Linked DNA regions of Homo sapiens: region 1 is linked to region 2. Evidence: promoter capture Hi-C in 16 types of primary human blood cells and fetal thymus (Javierre and others, 2016). All regions are on one chromosome and are shown on one strand. Each heading gives the region's core, a stretch centred on a gene start or on the middle of the fragment in contact. The rest is flanking DNA. Distances are from core to core; before and after follow the strand shown. Region 1 has its middle 32 kb from the start of SNORD14E. Region 2 holds the start of UBASH3B (ubiquitin associated and SH3 domain containing B).

Region 1 (3,321 bases), core at 511-3,010, 370 kb after region 2:
TATTTCCTAGCCCTGATCACTGAGGGAGGAAACAATGACACCCCAGTAGCAGTAAGCATCTAGTGCCCAGATCTTTTTTTTTTTTTTTTTTTTGAGCCTGAGTCTTGCTCTGTCGCCCAGGCTGGAGTGCAGTGGCGTGATCTCGGCTCACTGCAAGCTCCGCCTCCCGGGTTCACGACATTCTCCTGCCTCAGCCTCTCCAGTAGCTGGGACTACAGGCACCCACCACCACGCCCGGCTAATGTGTGTGTGTGTGTGTGTGTGTGTGTGTGTGTGTGTGTGTGTGTGTGTTTAGTAGAGACGGGATTTCACTGCAGATCTTTCTTTCTAAATATTATTCTCCAGTAAAAAGGAACCCGGTCTACTTAAACAGATAGCTGATTATACGGCTGGGGCAGGGAAGAACAGAATGAACTTAGGACATCTTGTGGAGCTAGTAACTAAGGAAGTGCTCAAAAAATGATGGACACATGTTGAAATGACACAAGCCAACTTGGTAAGACTCCTAGATCTGGGACAATCTGAACAACAAAAATGTTTAAAAGATAATAATGTTCACTCACAGATTAAAAGCAATATTCATGAGCCCATACTTATTTAAATAAAAAATTGAATAAACAAATAAATGAGGAAGAAAGGAAAGTTCTTTCTTACTGTAATACTCCAATTAATAAATGCAGAAGGAGTGATGCAAATAGCAAGTCACCAATGGCAAAGATCACAGTAAAAATTGTTTTTCAAGAACGTATCAGTGGATGCTAAAATTCATGGATGAAATTATTACCAGAAACATGATATTTATTTAGTCTCTAAGTATTTTTCCATGAGATGCCTATTAATTACAGTGAGAAATGTCATAACTTCACAATGTAGAAATGTGGCATATATAGCCTTAACCAAGATTAAAGCTTATTGTGTGCTTCCTGATATGATGCACTGAGAAGGACATGGCATCCCTTATGTGGTATCCTTACCAAAAATGCATAACCTGAATTTAATGTCTGCAAGGAATGCAGACATACCCAAATGGAGGGATGTTCCACAAAATAACTGACAGCTGCTCTTCAAAGGTGTCAAGGTTGGAAAAGATAAAGAAAAACTGAGACATCGTCCCAGCTTAAAACAGGCTAATAAATAAAGGCAATGTGTAATCCTGGTTTGGATCATGGATCATAAAAAGGACAGTATTGAGTCCAGATGCAGTGGCTCACGCCTGTAATCCCAGCACTTTGGGAGGCCGAGGTGGGCGGATCACAAGATTCAGCAGTTCAAGACCAGTGTGGCAACACGGTGAAACCCCATCTCTACTAAAAATACAAAAATTAGCCAGGCATGGTGGCGGGCCCCTGTAATTCCAGCTACTCCGGAGGCTGAGGCAGGAGAATTGCTTGAACCCAGGAGGCGGAGGTTGCAGTGAGCCGAGACCGTGCCATTGCACTCCAGCCTGGGCGACAGAGCAAGACTCTGTCTCAAAAAACAAAAGGACAGTATTGAAACAGATAATGAGAATTAAATGAGATAGCAATGAATTAAGTAGTAATGTTAACTTCCCAATTTTATCTTTGTACTGTTATTATATCATATGTTAACATTTGGAGAAGTTAGGTAAAGAGGATATAGAAATTCTTTGTACTATTTTTGTAAATCTTACATAATTTACAATAAAAAGTTGTAAAAAACTAAGCAAGAATTATGAACCATCCACTGTGTATAAGGCACTTTAACCAGAATATAATTTCTCAAGAAATATGTATCCTGTACGTTAGAGAACTTTTAACATAATATCAATTAATCAGAACATTGTCCTTCTATGAGCTAGAAATCCAATAACTTTCTTCTTGTACATCTCACATATCTCTATCTTAATTAATTAATTAGTTTGTTCATTCTTCTTTTTAATTAAAAAACTATGGGCTAGGCCTCATGCTGGGAACACAATAATGAAAAAGCCAGACATAATTCCTACCTCCCATAAACTAAAAGTCACATGGAGATATAATTAAAGAGTCAATTACAGTGTATAATAAGTGCCAAGATGTGTTAAGCAATTTCAGGCCACAGAACATGGCAGTTAGCACAAATTCTAGAGCCATATTGTCTGGGTTCAAATCCGTGCTCCATCACCAGCTGTGTGACTTTGGGAAAGTTACTTAACCTCTCTATGCCTCAATTTTCTCATCTGTACAATAAGAATAATAATAGTATCTACATCATATGGTTGTTGTGAAAATTAAAGGAGTTAATTTTATAACGTTGCACTTAGAATGGTGCCTGGTGAATCGCTTGAGCTCAGGAGTTTGAGACCAGCGTGGACAACATGGTAAAACCATGTCTCTACAGTAAAATAAAAAAAAAAAAATTAGCTGAGCATGGTGGCATGCACTATAGTCCCAGCTACCTGGGAGGCTAAGGCTGGGGGACCAATTGAGCCTGAGAAGTCAAGGCTGCAGTGAGCCACGATAACATCACTGCACTCCAGCCTGGGTGGCAGAGCGAGACCCTGTCTCAAACAAAAAAAGGTGCCTGGCACGCAGTAAGTCTAGGAAATGAATGGGCACACACCTGTTGCGGGGGCAGGGCTCTACTGTGTGAAGACGGGGAGTATTTAAGAAAAAAGCTTCCAGAACAAGTGGCATGTGAGCTGAGACCCAAAAGGCAGAACAATCAGGCTTTGCAAAAGCCTGGAATTGAGACAGGGCAAAGAGATTTGCAAAACTGAAAGAGTTCGTGGCCCAAGTGATGAGTGGTGAGAAATGAAGTCAGAGATTAGTAGGGACCAGATCATACAGGGCCTTTTCAGTGGAGTGAAAGAGCCTGGACTTCACCTTTAAGGCTGTGGAAGCCGTGGTGAGATGGAGGCAGGAGGAGCATCTCAATGGCCCTTCAGAAAGATTTCTAAGGCAGCAAAGTGGAGATTTATAGAGGAGATTCACAGCAGGCCACACTGGAGCCAGAAGAGGCGGGAGGCTTTTGTGGTGATCCAAAGAGGAGATGGTAACGTGCTGGACAAAGAGAAGTGGACAGATTGGAAAGATCCTTAGAAGGTTGAATCCTTTTGCTTTCCACTAAGATATGAGCACTATGAGAAGAGAATTTTTCAACAGCTTTATTGAGATGTTAGGCACGTACCATACAATTCACCCCTTTAAAATGTACAGTTGAATAGCGTTTAGTATATCCACAGCTGAGCATCCATTGCCAAAATAGATTTTAGAACATTTCTGTCAACCAGGCAAAATCCCATATCCATTAGTAGTCACTCCATATTTCTCCCCAAACTCCCTCCCCCAAGCCCTAGGCAACCACCTGTCTGCTTTCTAT
Region 2 (3,529 bases), core at 670-3,169:
AACACCAGCATATAGTAAGTACTCAATAAATTTGAGTTATCATTTATGTAGCGCTTTATGGTTTACAAAGCGCTTTCACATACATTATTATCTCTTGACTAAGATCCAGATCATTTGACTTTCAGCCCAGGCATTTGGAAACAATTCAGAATACTGGATAAAATCCAGCATGTTTTACCGAACACATCCAAGGAGGCTAATACTAGGTATGGTGTTGCCAGCCCAGTCTTGTCTTTTTGCTCCATGTCCTGGAAGAGCATTCTGCAAGGTCTCCAGGATATCCCCTTTGCTCTGGAAGCAGCTACTACCCAGGAAGCATTAATTTTCCCTCATCCTTTGTACAGCAGGAGGCAGAATTAATACACATTGTTGCTTAAGCTCCAGCTGTCTTATCTCCCTGCTTCCAAACACCACTGGCTATTCTTTAGGAAACCAATTCCGGGCTCAGGGAGTTACACTGTATCATTTCCCCTGGTAAAACCTTCACAGGCCTTATAAAGCAACCTCAAAAAGCCACTCCATGGGTGCTGGTCACCATCCCTCCCCCATATTCCAACCAGGGACAGGCCCGGACTGACATTTCTGGAAAACCCAGTGTGTGCAAGGTTAGGTTACCACGGTCCATACCAATGAGGAAATTAGGCTGTAGAGAGAAGTAACTTGTCTAAGGCACCGCAGTGGATACGAGTGCTGTAGCTACGCACTTACCAGCTCTATGATCTTCCCCAACCTCTCTGAGCTGAGTTTTCTCATCTGTAAAACTGGGATAATGATTAAACACACTCCTAGGGTCAGTATAAAACTTCAGTGAGTTCATTCATTACGATTAGCACAATGACTGGCACATACAAGAGCCCAATAAATGTTAGGTTTTATTATTATTATTACCCAAAAAAGACTATCAGTTAGGGTGTACTCATTGCCTCTTTCATTATAGCAAGTGGGACCCTTGTCCCTGACTGAAGACAATGACTTTGTTTCCAAACGAAAGAGGGTTAGCATCCCCCAGCCAAATTCACCAGGTGGGGCATGGGGCATCAATATGGTTGTGGCTTCCACCATCTTTGCAGTGGGAGTAGTTTTGTCCAGCCTATGATACAATTCACTTATTATTGTGCAGTGGTGATTCGGTCCGTCTTTGAATCCTTTTATTGACAGGATATCCACTCCCTAATGAAATAAGCCCGTTCCCTTTTGAACACCTCTTATAATTAGGAAGTATGTTTTCTCTGTTCCTTCTTCCTCTACCCTCCTAGCCCTTCCTTCTTCTCCTCCTCCTTCCTCCTTTCTTTTTCCCTTCCCTCTTCTTTCTGCCCTGTCCCTCTTTTCTTGTCCCCTCCCAGGTCCTGCCACCTCTGAGAACCTGAGGTCCTTCTCCCCAACCCCTCTGCCCCACCGGGAAGGCACTATTCAGTCACTGACCATAACCTTGTAGAGCGCAGTAGGTCTTTAGTGCAGCCACTTGGCCGGCTGATTGGGAACTCAACTTCCGATGGTCCTAACAACCCTTTGGGTTTTGCAGGATCTTTGAGAAGCAAAACCTTTTACCTAGGCCTTACGGCTTGGCCTTCTGGTCCATTAGTATCATCCACCAGTTCACCCAATTTCCATTAATAACCGCATCTAGAATCACATGAAACTTGAGATGGGTTGATCTCCTGTCTTGAGGCCCAGCTGGGCGGGTATGCCAGCCAAGGAGAGGGCTGGGGCGCCGGGGGTGACTCTCGGGAGGTGAAGCACACAAGCAGCCCATAAGGTTGGGATCCTCCGTCTCCAAGTAGCGCGACTACAGCTCTTGCCCGCACGGAGCAGCCTCGGACAGCGCGGCCGCTTTAAGAGAGGGGCGGGGCCCGGGTACAGGCAAGTCAGGGCCAGCCCACAAGGCTCCTTTTCCTTTTTGATCCATTCAAAAATTACTCATTGCAAATTCCCGGACTGCTAGGCGAGGAGAGGGAAGGGGGCGGAGGAGACAGGGCTACTGCAGGCGCAGAGCTGGGGGCAGCCGGGGGCCCGAGTGGCTGAGGCTGGTCCCGCAGCGGCCGCTTGCCGGCGTTCTGGCTCCTGTGGCCTCACCAGGAAGCGTCAGAGTCCCGACACTGGGGAAGCTCGGAGCGCCGCCTCCGCTGCCGCCGCCTCCTGCCTGGCTCTGGGTCCCCGAGCCCCCTCCCCTGGCCCAGCCCGACTCCCTCCTCCTTCCCGAACCATCCGGCTCGGGCTCCTTCCCTGGCGATGGCTGGCCGCTGAGCCATGGCTCAGTACGGCCACCCCAGTCCGCTCGGCATGGCTGCGAGAGAGGAGCTGTACAGCAAAGTCACCCCCCGGAGGAACCGCCAACAGCGCCCCGGCACCATCAAGCATGGATCGGCGCTGGACGTGCTCCTCTCCATGGGGTTCCCCAGAGCCCGCGCGTAAGTGGCCGGGCTCGCAGCCCTCGGCGACCCCTCCCGCGCGCGCGGCCGGCCCTCGGCTTCGCTCCGGCTCGCCTCCCAGCGCCTGCGGGACAGGCAGCGCGCTCCCCGCTGCCCGAGACCTGTTGGGGGCGGGATGGGCGCGCTGGCAACCCGGGACTCGGCTCCGGGCGGGGGTGCGGGGGAAGACGCGGCGCGGGGGCGTTGGGCCAGGGCTCGCCGTGGGATGCCTAAAGCTGGGGGACGAGGGCGCGGGGTTCGAGTCCCGGGTATAGTGCTCAGCCTCCGCCCCAGCCGGGTGGAGCTCAGCGTTTCTCTCGCGCGCTCCCCTAGGTCTCCAGCGCCGAGCGCCTAGGGAGGCGGGGCCCTGCGGAGGACTCGGGCACCCTCTCCGTCTGGAATACTGGGCTGGTCTGGGATCCTCCGGTGTCTGGGAAAGGGCGGGAGACTGCGGGGCAGGGAGGCCGGCGCCCCCGTTGCAGCGGCTTCCAGCTCCGGATGTCGCTCTCGGGTTCGGTCTCCCCCTGGAGTAGGAGGAGCGGGAGCGTGGGTGTTCCTGCGTGTTCATTGATGGGGAGGATGGAATCAGAAGGAGAAGCGATCCCTCCAGGGGACCTGGGTTCTCGTCAGTGGTGACGGCAGCTCAGAAATCTGTGGGTGCCTGAGAGTAAGGAGGGGGAGCTGTTCTTCATCCTTCCTCTAGGAGAGTGGGGTAGGGGAGGGCAGGGAGAGCGCAGGTGGCTGCCCCTGGAGCCTGCTGGGGAGAGGCCTGTTTGCCAGCATAGGGTGGCGGCGGCCGGAGTCGTCTCAGGCCGGTCGGCTCAAGTCTCAGGGGCTGGAACTCTGCCTAAGAGGAAGCCAAGGCCCAGCGGCCAGGCCCTTCTCCCCTGGTTAATCCCTGCCGTGCAGATTTCTTAGGTGGGGACACAAGGCCTGGCGTCCGGACTGGGCGCAGCTTCTTTTCATCTTTGAATTACAGCACCTGAACAGGAGAGTTGGCCAAACTTAATCAGTGAGGGCCAAGTAAATGAAAGTCCTTTTTATTTTTTTCCCTTCTCACATTTTTTTTTCAGGTGATAACTTTATTTATGTATTTATTTTTCTGAGACGGAGTCTCGCTG

What was found. The method cuts DNA at HindIII sites, captures the fragments that hold promoters and counts their contacts. A CHiCAGO score of 5 or more calls a contact.
Region 1: a fragment that was not itself captured here is called in contact with the fragment with the promoter of UBASH3B in region 2 in 1 of 17 cell types (fetal thymus); the score reaches 5.4 in fetal thymus.

Annotation. Positions count from the first base shown.
Region 1 is chr11:123,024,967-123,028,287 of GRCh38, forward strand. No RefSeq gene overlaps it. Among named protein-coding and RNA genes, the nearest start is that of SNORD14E, 32 kb to the right of the region's middle. The HindIII fragment of the contact is 1,709 bases long and covers 907-2,615 here.
Region 2 is chr11:122,653,803-122,657,331 of GRCh38, forward strand. It overlaps UBASH3B (ubiquitin associated and SH3 domain containing B), which reads left to right and starts at 1,920. Exons shown (of 14, transcript NM_032873.5): 1 at 1,920-2,408. The coding sequence starts at 2,248. RefSeq lists an enhancer at 1,825-2,326 and a silencer at 2,530-2,579. The HindIII fragment of the contact is 6,403 bases long and covers 1-3,529 here.